4 separate regions of the Homo sapiens genome follow, and regions 1, 3 and 4 are each linked to region 2. The links are contacts of gene promoters, found by promoter capture Hi-C in human tissues and cell types (Jung and others, 2019). All regions are on one chromosome and are shown on one strand. The core of a region is centred on a gene start or on the middle of the fragment in contact, and the rest is flanking DNA. Distances in the headings are between cores, read along the strand shown.

Region 1 (2,808 bases), core at 1-2,500, 250 kb before region 2:
GCGGCAGACGATGTTCGAGCTCTCAAAGATGTTCTTGCTCTGCCTTAACTACTGGAAGCTTGAGACACCTGCCCAGTTTCGGCAGAGGTCTCAGGCTGAGGACGTGGCTACCTACAAGGTCAATTACACCAGGTAGGCCCAGCCAGGGGCAGCTTCGGGGGAGGCTTGCAGGCCCAGCCTGGGTTCAGTGGTTTCCGCCCTCACCTGTCTCCCCCTCGACCCCCTACTCCAGATGGCTCTGTTACTGCCACGTGCCCCAGAGCTGTGATAGCCTCCCCCGCTACGAAACCACTCATGTCTTTGGGCGAAGCCTTCTCCGGTCCATTTTCACCGTTACCCGCCGGCAGCTGCTGGAAAAGTTCCGAGTGGAGAAGGACAAATTGGTGCCCGAGAAGAGGACCCTCATCCTCACTCACTTCCCCAAGTAAGGCTCCTTCTGGCCTACCAGGATTTGGCCCCAAGTTCACATCCTCCCTGTTGTCCCCTTTTTTCCAGGAAGGCTTCCTGGATTGGTCCCTCCTCTCCCTCCATGGGCCTTTTGGGATCTGGGCGTCTACCTGGCAGACTTGCCCATGGCCCAGAAGCAACTTGCTAGTACTAGTCTGGGGATGGCAGGTACATAGCCCAAGCTAACGCTGCCCCCACCCGACCCTACGCCCCAGTAGATGTTACTAATTGTTTCCCATGGGGGCCTGGACACAGCCTCAGACTCCTTCCCTGCACAACTCTCCAAGAAACCAGACCTTAAGCTTGAAGTGAAACCAATTTCTACTCCTGTTCTGGTCTTTTCTGTACCATTTTCTTCTGTTCGGCCACACCTTTTAAAATCTAGGCCATAACTCCCCTGTTCAAAAAACCCTGACTGACTAATCCTGGCTCTCTAGTGCCCCCTGCCATCAGGTGGGAACAAGAGATGGCAAGGTGGGGTGGAGTCTGAGCCCATTTTGATACTGAGGGCAGTGAGGGGGCTCAGGGTGACAAGGTGCCCTGCCTGGCCACACAGCACAGGATGACATCAGCTCAGACCTGTCTCCCTGTGCCACACAGCGTGGTGAAACTGAGCCTGTTTGATCTCTGTCCTGGATGTGTCCTGTCCTCTTACCTTCAATTGGAGGCTCCCAGAAGACAGGGGCTGTCCCCTCTCTCAGGTCCCCAGTTCCCTAAGAGCAGGGTCTGTCTCTGACCAGCCTCCAGTCCCTCTGCTGCCTGGCCCAGGCTGCACCCTGGAGAACAGAGTTGTGGGACAGACTGTGTCCTCCCTACAGATTCCTGTCCATGCTGGAGGAGGAGATCTATGGGGCAAACTCTCCAATCTGGGAGTCAGGCTTCACCATGCCACCCTCAGAGGGGACACAGCTGGTTCCCCGGCCAGGTATGTGCCATGGTACGCTCTGTAGGGTGTCTGGCCTGCCTGGCTGAGCTAAGCCTCCTGGGTGGAAGAGAGCTCACCTGGGCCGGAGGCCCTGGATCCCACTGAGGGACCTGCCACCGGCTTCAGCCCCCCCAGTCCCTGCCTTCTCTCTCTCTCTCCTCAGCTTCAGCACCCCCGTCCCTGACTCTCTCTCTCCTCAGCTTCAGCCCCCGTCCCTGACTTCTCTCTCTCTCTCCTCAGCTTCAGCCCCCCATCCCTGACGTCTCTCTCTCTCCTCAGCTTCAGTCAGTGCAGCGGTTGTTCCCAGCACCCCCATCTTCAGCCCCAGCATGGGTGGGGGCAGCAACAGCTCCCTGAGTCTGGATTCTGCAGGGGCCGAGCCTATGCCAGGTGGATACTTGACCCCTGACCTCTGACCCTCATTCACTCCTTCCCAAACCTTTTTTACTGATCCTGAGCAACCTTGCCTGCCTCCCCAATAGGCGAGAAGAGGACGCTCCCAGAGAACCTGACCCTGGAGGATGCCAAGCGGCTCCGTGTGATGGGTGACATCCCCATGGAGCTGGTCAATGAGGTCATGCTGACCATCACTGACCCTGCTGCCATGCTGGGGCCTGAGGTGGGCAGCCCGACCTGCTGACCAGTTGGGGGACCCCCACCAACCTGAGACCCCGGCTCACCACCCCTCTTCTGTGCCCAGACGAGCCTGCTTTCGGCCAATGCGGCCCGGGATGAGACAGCCCGCCTGGAGGAGCGCCGCGGCATCATCGAGTTCCATGTCATCGGCAACTCACTGACGCCCAAGGCCAACCGGCGGGTGTTGCTGTGGCTCGTGGGGCTGCAGAATGTCTTTTCCCACCAGCTGCCGCGCATGCCTAAGGAGTATATCGCCCGCCTCGTCTTTGACCCGTGCGTCCCCCAGAGAGCCCCTCCCCCAGGGCAGCACACCCAGTTCCCTTCCTCCTCGGCCTCTTCACTCCTCAAAATTGGGGATCCCCTGCTCCCCACTTCTGAGGTTCATCCTTTGAGCATTCTTACTTCTCACTGCCCAACCCTGACTACAGCTCAGACTTCCAGGGCTCTGGGGACCTGAAGGGGACAGTCAGGGGCTATGACATGCCCCCCTCTCTCTTAGGAAGCACAAGACTCTGGCCTTGATCAAGGATGGGCGGGTCATCGGTGGCATCTGCTTCCGCATGTTTCCCACCCAGGGCTTCACGGAGATTGTCTTCTGTGCTGTCACCTCGAATGAGCAGGTCAAGGTGAGCGCGGCTCCCCGGCCCCAGCCCCAGTCCACGGCCCACTCCTGAGTTTGGGCCAGTTCGGAGCAGCAGGATGTGTGGCATGCAGCAGCCCGTTGCTCTTCTCTTAGTTAGCGGCCCGTTCCTCACATCCCCACAAGGTGGCAGCCGTACTTTGATAACTGTGGATTAGGA
Region 2 (2,839 bases), core at 103-2,602:
TCAAGCAGTCCTCCCACTCCAGCCTCCCAAGTAGCTGGGACTACAGGAGCATGCCACCACTCCAGGCTAACTTTTGTATTTTTTGTGGAGATAAGGTTCTGCTGTATTTCCCAGGCTCTTCTGGAACTCATGGACTCAAGCAATCCATCCTCCTTGGCCTCCCAAAGTGCTGTTACAGGCGTGAGCCACTGTGCCTGGCCTGGCCTGAACTGTACTAATAGTTTCAGTATATATGGTTTTAAAAATGCTCATCTACGGTCAGGCGTGGTGGCTCATGCCTGTAATCCCAGCACTTTGGGAGGCTGAGGCGGGTGGATCACGAGGTCAGCAGATCGAGACCATCCTGGCTAACACGGTGAAACCCCGTCTCTATTAAAAATACAAAAACTTAGCCAGGCATGGTGGCGGGCGCCTGTAGTCCCAGCTACTCCGGAGGCTGAGGCAGGAGAATGGCGTGAACCCGGGAGGCGGAGGTTGCAGTGAGCCGAGACCCGCGCCACTGCACTCCAGCCTGGGCGACAGAGCGAGACTCCGTCTCAAAAAAAAAAAAAAAAAAAAAATTAGCCTGGAGTGGTGGCGGGCGCCTGTAGTCCCAGCTACTCGGGAGGCTGAGGCACAAGAATCGCTTGAACCCGGGCGGCGGAGGTTGCAATAAGCGAAGAGCGCGCCACTGCACTCCAGCCTGGGCGACAGAGCGAGACTCCGTCTCAAAAAAAAAAAAAAAAAAAAAATTAGCCTGGAGTGGTGGCGGGCGCCTGTAGTCCCAGCTACTCGGGAGGCTGAGGCACAAGAATCGCTTGAACCCGGGCAGCGGAGGTTGCAATAAGCGAAGAGCGCGCCACTGCACTCCAGCCTGGGCGACAGAGCGAGACTCCGTCTCAAAAAAAAAAAAAACAAAAAACCCAAAACAAAACAAAAACAAAAAGAAACAAAAAAAAAAACGGATAACGAGTAACTCATTCATCCCTCATCCACTTAGCTGGGGCTAGATCTTATAAAAATCCTGTATTGCCACTCAAGGCTTTAACAACAGGTGATGGTCTAAGGTGGCTTTACTCGACAAAATGACTGCAGAGAGCATGCTACCCACTAAGGAAAGGAAGCGAGCCATACTCGCACCGACGCCCTGGGGGTAGGCCTGGGGCGAAGTCTTCTGGACTGGGCGACTGTTACTGACGGACCTCACCAAGGCAGGCAGAGCTGCTGGAGGCGAGGCGGCGCTGCTGGAGGCGAGGCGGCGCTGCTGGAGGCGAGGCGGCGCTGCTGGAGGCGAGGCGGCGCATGTGCGGCCGGCGGGCGACCTGGCCCCGCCCCGCGCGCACTATTTAATCCCAGAATCCCTCTGTGTCGTACCAACAGCCGCATCGTTCCGAGGCTGTGGAGGCCGGGCGCAGCGGCGTCAAGATGGCGGCTGCGGCAGTGGCGGCGGCGGCGGCGGCGGCCGCGGCTGCATCTCTTCAGGTACTGGAGATGGAGAGCATGGAGACGGCCGCCGCCGGCTCGGCAGGACTGGCCGCCGAGGTCCGAGGCAGCGGCACGGTGGACTTCGGGCCTGGGCCGGGGATCTCTGCAATGGAGGCGAGCGGGGGCGATCCGGGCCCAGAAGCCGAGGATTTCGAGTGCAGCTCTCACTGCTCAGAGCTGTCCTGGCGGCAGAACGAGCAGCGGCGCCAGGGCCTCTTCTGCGACATTACCCTGTGCTTCGGCGGGGCTGGAGGCCGCGAGTTCCGGGCCCACCGCTCGGTACTGGCTGCCGCCACCGAGTACTTCACGCCCCTGCTCTCGGGCCAGTTTTCCGAGTCCCGCTCGGGACGGGTGGAGATGCGCAAGTGGAGCTCCGAGCCGGGGCCCGAACCCGACACAGTGGAAGCCGTAATCGAGTACATGTACACCGGGCGCATCCGCGTCAGCACGGGCAGCGTGCACGAGGTGCTGGAGTTGGCCGACAGGTAGGCGAGGGAGGCGGGAGCGCGGAGGGCGGCGGGCGCGGAGAGGGGGAGATGCTCGCTGGCGGAGGGGAGGGCAGTGCCTGCCACGGCAGCTCGCGAGTCCTGAGTGAATGCATTGGTTTCACACTCGCTGAGCGCCTGCTTGGGGGCAGCCACCGCGGTGGGCGAGGAGGATGCACCATCAGGTCCGGCGAGGGCGCCCCGCGCCCAAGGAGCTCAGATACTAGGTGATGGGACAAAAGTGATGAAAAGGAAAGTCAGTATGTGGTAACTGTTGTGCTGACGTTCAAAAGGAATGAAAGGCTAGGGATTGAATAAAGATCTTTCTGAAGAGGTGAAGTTTAGATCGACCTCTGAATGTCAAAAAATAACTGACCGTGCAAAGATGGGGAATGAATATTCCAGACAGCGCAAACGCCCTCAGGCAGGATCCAGTTTGGCTTAGAGAAGAGAATTAAAATATAGTCCAGTGAGGCTGGATCTAGTGGATGAAGGGGAGAAGGATGCGTGAGATGCGTTGGAATAAGGAGTTTGGATTTCACTAAGTGTGATAGGAAGCTGGGTAAAGAAATAGCTCATTTAAATATTTTAATATTATTCTGCCACTGTGTTAAACGGATTGTAGGGAGCAGGAATGCTCCAGAGACTGGTTAGAAGGCAGGTAATACCGTTTATAGAGATGGAGAGGCGTTTGTTTTGGCAATTATCATCTTACAGATACATTAACAAAAATGCCTATTGAGCGCCTATTACGCATCAGCTCAGATGCGGGATTCTAAGGTGCTAGGGTTTCAGCAGTGATCAAAACAGACAAAAGTCCTTTTCCTTATCGCACTTAGGTTGGTAGATGGACGGTAAATAAGTAAAATGTATAGCCTGTTGGATGATTG
Region 3 (2,757 bases), core at 219-2,718, 130 kb before region 2:
AAAATACTGCTATCACCCAGTTGCTGAATATATAAGGTACTGGAGGGAGTACAAAGAGGGCAGCAAGTACCTACATTGTTGTGATGGGAAGAGGGAACACCAGTGGATGGGTGCTCCTTATAGTATGGCACTGGCATCCTGTACCTCATATGTCCCTGTCATCCACGGTCTTAGTCTCTGCTGTCACTCAGCTCTGTTCCTGTCTTAAACACCAACATGCTATGCTTTTAACTCTTTTGCCACCTGCCTTTGCTCTGCTTGTTCTTCCAGTGACAAATGCATGAGCCACTTTTCAGGAGGTGAAATTATTAAAACTCTTGAGGATGTGACCTATTTCACATTGAGAAATAAGTTGCCCTGAATGGAGTAACCATTTTTCCTGTAAGTTTGCAAAAGAGGCAGCAGTTGTGACACTGTGGAAGGAGATAGAAAAATTCCTTGCCATGAGGGAATGTCTAAATTTGTCCTGCGGGGAGGATGACTACAGGCAGAAATAGTGAGGTGAGGCAGGAACATAAGAGGGGTTTTCTTGATTTAGTTTGAATGTATCTAAGTGACAAAAAGGAGCATCTGAAGAACTTGGATTCTTTCATTAGCACCTCCTTTTGGTCCATTGGCCTATTCAACAAATCTATAAATCCTTCAAGTATCACACTAACTTTCAGCTCAGTGTGCTGCGGGCTCTAGACCAAAGATTCCTCCTGTAAGATTACAGAGGTTATTCCCTTTGTAAAGTAACATGATTCTCTTTCTCTTTCATTTTCAGGGAAGCAGAGACTTTCAAGGAACAAGGAAATGCATACTATGCCAAGAAAGATTACAATGAAGCTTATAATTATTATACAAAAGCCATAGGTGAGAAAGAACTGATACTTACGCTAGAAAACATTTACTTGCCAAATATTATTAAAAGTAGCTGCCAAGTCCTGGTGGCTCACGCCTGTAATCCCAGCACTTTGGGAGGCCAAAGCAGGAGGATCACTTTAGATCAGGGGTTTCAGACCACTCTGGCCAACATGACGAAACCCCGTCTCTACTGAAAATACAAAAATTAGCTGGGCCTGGTGGCGGGCACCTGTAATCCCAGCTACTTGGGAGGCTGAGGCAGGAGAATTGCCTGAACTCGGGAGGTAGAGGTTGCAATGAGCCAAGATTGTGCCACTGCACTCCAACCTGGGCAACAAAGCAAGACTTCATCTCAAAAAGATAAAAAAAATAGGCCAGGCTCAGTGGCTCATGCCTGTAATCCCAGCACTTTGGGAGGCCAAAGCAGGCGGATCACTTTAGATCAGGGGTTTCAGACCACTCTGGCCAACATGACGAAACCCTGTCTCTACTAAAAATACAAAAATTAGCTGGGCCTGGTGGCGGGCACCTGTAATCCCAGCTACTTGGGAGGCTGAGGCAGGAGAATTGCCTGAACTCGGGAGGTAGAAGTTGCAGTGAGCCAAGATTGTGCCACTGCACTCCAACCTGGGCAACAAAGCAAGACTTCATCTCAAAAAGATAAAAAAAATAGGCCAGGCTCAGTGGCTCACGCCTATAATCCCAGCACTTTGGAAGGCCAAGGCAGGCAGATCACCTAAAGTCAGGAGTTTGAGACCGGCCTGGCTAACATGGTGAAACCCTGTCTCTACAAAATACAAAAATTTGCTGGGTGTGGTGGTGCGTGCCTGTAATCCCAGCTACTAGGGAGGCTGAGGCAGGAGAATCGCTTGAACCCAGGAGGTGGAGGTTGCAGTGAGCTGAGATCCTGCCGTTGCACTCCAGCCTGGGGGACGACCAAAGAACTCCATCTCAAAAATTAAATTAAAAAAAATTGAGAAAAGTAGCTTCTCTCTGAGAAGTAGCCTTTTGCCCAATGGGTTGATAACTGTTACTGTATGAACTCCTTCAGGCTTAATGATCTCATGAAGGCCAGGCGTGGTGACTCATGCCTGTAATCCCAGCATTTTGGGAGGCCGAGGCGGGCGGATCACCTGAGGTCAGGAGTTCTTCTCCCCTAATTTGCTTACCCCAACTCAACATGCACATTTCATTTCAGCCTGGCCTGTTAACATGGTGAAACCCTGTCTCTAAAGATACAAAAATTAGCCAGGTGTGGTGGGCGCTTGTAATCCCAGCTACTCGGGAGGCTGAGGCAGGAGAATTGCTTGAACCTGGGAGGCAGAGGTTGTAGTGAGCCAAGATCACGTCGCTGCACTCCAGCCTGGGCAACAAGCGCGAATCTCCGTCTCAAAAAAAAAAACAAACTCATGAATGATAACTTTTTTCTTTTTCTTTTCTTTTTTTTTAACTCTTTAAATTTTTTAAAATAGAGACAGGGTCTTACCATGTTGCCCCGGCTGGTCTCAAACTCCTGGGCTCAAGCGATCCTCCTACCTTGGCCTCCCAAAGTGCTAGAATTACAGGGATGTGCCACCATCCCCAGCTGTGATAACTTCTTCTAACTGGGGTGGGTAGTTTTTCTTTTGATAAATTAAAGGCAATTCCAGAAATACTGAATGTTATGGCAAAACCCACCTAAATACATTTCAGTCATTGTCAATTCATTTACTACCTTAGAAAATGGCCTTTGTACATAAAAGAAGTCTTAGTTATCTCCATGCTTAATTTGCCAGCATACTTTAATCCCGTGTCAGCATTCTTCTCACCTAATTTGCTTACCCCAGCTCAACATGCACATTTCATTTTAATGTCTCATTATACAAAACAGTTCATTAAGATTAATAAGCTGCCTCTCTCCTCAAAAGATAA
Region 4 (2,926 bases), core at 213-2,712, 160 kb after region 2:
CCTCCCAGCCCGCCTACCCCTCCCAGGGTTTGTCATCTCAGTTCTGTGTGATGCACATAGATTGCTGCCCCTGTCCTGCTTCTGAACCTGCCAGGCTGGTCCCAGGTCCCTGACAGGCCACCCCGACCCCTTCCTCAGCTCCTGCCACTCCCTGCAAAAACCGACAGGAAGTTTCCGAAAGTGACCAGTTGATTCAATTGCAAATTAATATTCTGCAGCTTGGTTGTTACTGGCAACTGTGGTGAATCATTTCTCTTTCATTCCCAAGGTCATTTGACGTCAGCCCCCTTTTCCCCACCGTGAACACAGCTGCCTAAGTCCCGCTTCCGTCCTTTCCTCCTTTCCTCCATCGCTGGAGGTTCTGTCACCCCATTCAGTGTCAGCCCCTCCACCAGGGCCCATCATCCCAGACCCTCCTGCCTGCTTAGAGACCGTGTGCTTTCACTCTTTCATTCACTCATTCATCCATGCATCTGTTTACTCAACACAAATTTTCCAAGTGCCTGCTTTGTGTCAGGCACTGTTCTGACCCTGGGGACACAATGGTGATCGAGGGGGGTCTTTGTTCTTTCTCTTCCCTTTTCTTTGTTGTCTATTGAGCCCAGGAGTGGGGTGGGTTGGAGTGACACATGGTGGGCTCAAGGGGCCATGGGGGAGGTTTGGATGGCTGGTTATGCCTATGACCTCGCTATTGAGAACGTTATTTCAGAGAAGGTAGAAGGATCAGTGCGTTTCTTCAAGCTTTACTGAAGTTTTGCTGCATATATAAACCCACCTGATTCCAAATGATCCCTGGCAGACGGCAGAGGTCATTTCTGTCCACGAGCCAGAGAGATGCTGCCATGTGGCAAGGGCAACACCCCTGCTCATAATGTGCCCACCCAGCCAGCTTTGGAAATGATGCAATTCTTTTTTTTTTTTTTTTTTTTTTTTTAAATAAGCCATTTAGCCAGGCGCAGTGGCTCATGTCTGTAATCCCAGCACTTTGGGAGGCTGAGGCAGGCAGATCACTTGAGAACAGGAGTTCGAGACCAGCATGGCCAACATGGTGAAACCCCCGTCTCCAATAAAAATACAAAAATTAGCTGGGAGTGGTAGCGCATGCCTGTAATCCAGCTACTCAGGAGGATGAGGCAGGAGAATTGCCTGAATCCAGGGGGTAGAGGTTGCAGTGAGCCGAGATCAGACCACTGCACTCCAGCCTGGGCAACAGAGTGAGACTGTCTCCAAAAAAAAAAAAAAAAGCCATTTATTTAGATATTGTTTATATACCATACCTTTTGCCCTTTGAAAGTATACACTTCAGTGGCTTTTATATTATTTACTTTCTTTTTGAGACAAGTTCTTTTTCTTTTTCTTTTTTTTTTGAGACGGAGTCTTCTTCTGTCACCCAGGCTGGAGTGCAGTGGTATGAACTCAGCTCACTGCAACCTCCACCTCCCGAGTTCAAGTGATTCTCCTGCCTCAGCCTCCCAAGTAGCTGGTATTACAGGCGCCCATCACCACATCTGGCTAATTTTTTGTATTTTTAGTAGAGATGGGGTTTCACCGTGTTGGTCAGGCTGGTCTCGAACTTCTGACCTCAAGTGATCTGCCCGCCTCGGCCTCCCAAAGTGCTGGGATTACTGGCGTGAGTCACTGCGCCTGGCTGGGGTCTTCTTATATTGCCTAGGCCGGTCTTGAATTCAGGTGATCCTCCTGCATTGGGCTCCCAAAGTGCTGGGATTACAGACTTGAGCCACTGTGCCCAGCCAAAGACAGGTTTTTTGCTGTGTTGCACAGGCTATTCTCTAACTTCTGGGCTCAATGATCCTCCCACCTAAGCCTCCCAAGTAGCTAGGACTGGAGATGCAAGCCACCAAGCCCAGCTTCAGTGGCTTTTAGTTCACACATTTGTGCAACTATCACCATTATCTAATTCAGAACACTTTCATCACCCCACACCCATTTGCAGTCATTCCTCATTCCCCCTTTTCCCTGGAAACCACAAATCTACTTTCTGTCTCCAAGAATTTGCCTATTCTGAGACTTTCATTTAATTGGAATCATACAATATACGGCCTTTTGTGTATGGGTTATTTTACTTAGCATGATGCATTTGTGATTCATTCATGTTGTAGTATACATCAGAACTTCATTCTTTTTTTTTTTTGAGACAGAGTCTCGCTCTGTTGCCCAGGCTGGAGTGCAATGGCAGGATCTCAGCTTACTGCAACCTCCGCTTCCTGGGTTCAAGTGATTCTTCTGCCTCAGCCTCCCAAGTAGCTGGGATTACAGGTGCCTGCCACCACGCCCAGCAAATTTTTTGTATTTTTAGTAGAGACGGGGTTTCACTATGTTGGCCAGGCTGGTCTCGAACTCTTGACCTCAGGCAATCCACTCGCCTCGGCCTCCCAAAGTGCTGGCATTACAAGTGTGAGCCACTGCACCCGGCCTTTTTTTTTTTTTTTTTTGAGACAGAGTTTCGCTTTTGTTGCCCAGGCTGGAGTGCAATGGCGCGATCTCGGCTCACTGCAACCTCCGCCTCCAGGGTTCAAGCGATTCTCCTGCCTCAGCCTCTCGCGTAGCTAGGATTACAGGTGCTCACCACCACACCCGGCTAATTTTTATATTTTTATTTATTTTTTATTTTATTTTATTTTTTTTCGAGACAGCGTCTCACTCTGTTGCCCCGGCTAGAGTGCAGTGGTACGATCTTGGCTCACTGCAACCTCCGCCTCCCGGGTTCAAGTGATTCTTCTGCCTCAGCCTGGCCAGCATGGTGAAACCCCGTCTCTACTAATAATACAAAAAATTAGCTGAATATGGTGTCGCGTGCCTGTAAGCCCAGCTACTCGGGAGGCTGAGGCAGAATAATTGCTTGAACCTGGGCGGTGGAAGTTGCAGTGAGTTGAGATTGCGCCATTGCACTCTGGCCTGGGTGACA

The links. Contacts are between HindIII fragments. The study calls those that stand out against the background at their distance.
Region 1: a contact is called between a fragment that was not itself captured here and the fragment with the promoter of KLHL11 in region 2, in 2 of the 25 tissues and cell types used here (IMR-90 fibroblasts and lymphoblastoid cells).
Region 3: a fragment that was not itself captured here is called in contact with the fragment with the promoter of KLHL11 in region 2 in 3 of the 25 tissues and cell types used here (hippocampus, liver and mesenchymal stem cells).
Region 4: a fragment that was not itself captured here is called in contact with the fragment with the promoter of KLHL11 in region 2 in 3 of the 25 tissues and cell types used here (IMR-90 fibroblasts, heart left ventricle and liver).

Annotation. Positions count from the first base shown.
Region 1 is chr17:42,116,861-42,119,668 of GRCh38, reverse strand. It overlaps KAT2A (lysine acetyltransferase 2A), which reads left to right. Exons shown (of 18, transcript NM_021078.3): 5 at 1-132; 6 at 233-424; 7 at 1,266-1,372; 8 at 1,652-1,762; 9 at 1,855-1,991; 10 at 2,073-2,281; 11 at 2,508-2,634. Among named protein-coding and RNA genes, the nearest start is that of KAT2A, 3.1 kb to the left of the region's middle. The HindIII fragment of the contact is 4,791 bases long and covers 1-2,808 here.
Region 2 is chr17:41,863,936-41,866,774 of GRCh38, reverse strand. KLHL11 (kelch like family member 11) reads left to right here and starts at 1,352. Exons shown (of 2, transcript NM_018143.3): 1 at 1,352-1,949. The coding sequence starts at 1,405. RefSeq lists enhancers at 167-667, 668-1,168 and a silencer at 1,202-1,391. The HindIII fragment of the contact is 18,491 bases long and covers 1-2,839 here.
Region 3 is chr17:41,998,580-42,001,336 of GRCh38, reverse strand. DNAJC7 (DnaJ heat shock protein family (Hsp40) member C7) reads left to right here. Exons shown (of 14, transcript NM_003315.4): 2 at 767-855. Among named protein-coding and RNA genes, the nearest start is that of DNAJC7, 17 kb to the left of the region's middle. The HindIII fragment of the contact is 6,309 bases long and covers 1-2,757 here.
Region 4 is chr17:41,702,968-41,705,893 of GRCh38, reverse strand. No RefSeq gene overlaps it. Among named protein-coding and RNA genes, the nearest start is that of GAST, 7.9 kb to the left of the region's middle. RefSeq lists an enhancer at 50-842. The HindIII fragment of the contact is 6,214 bases long and covers 1-2,926 here.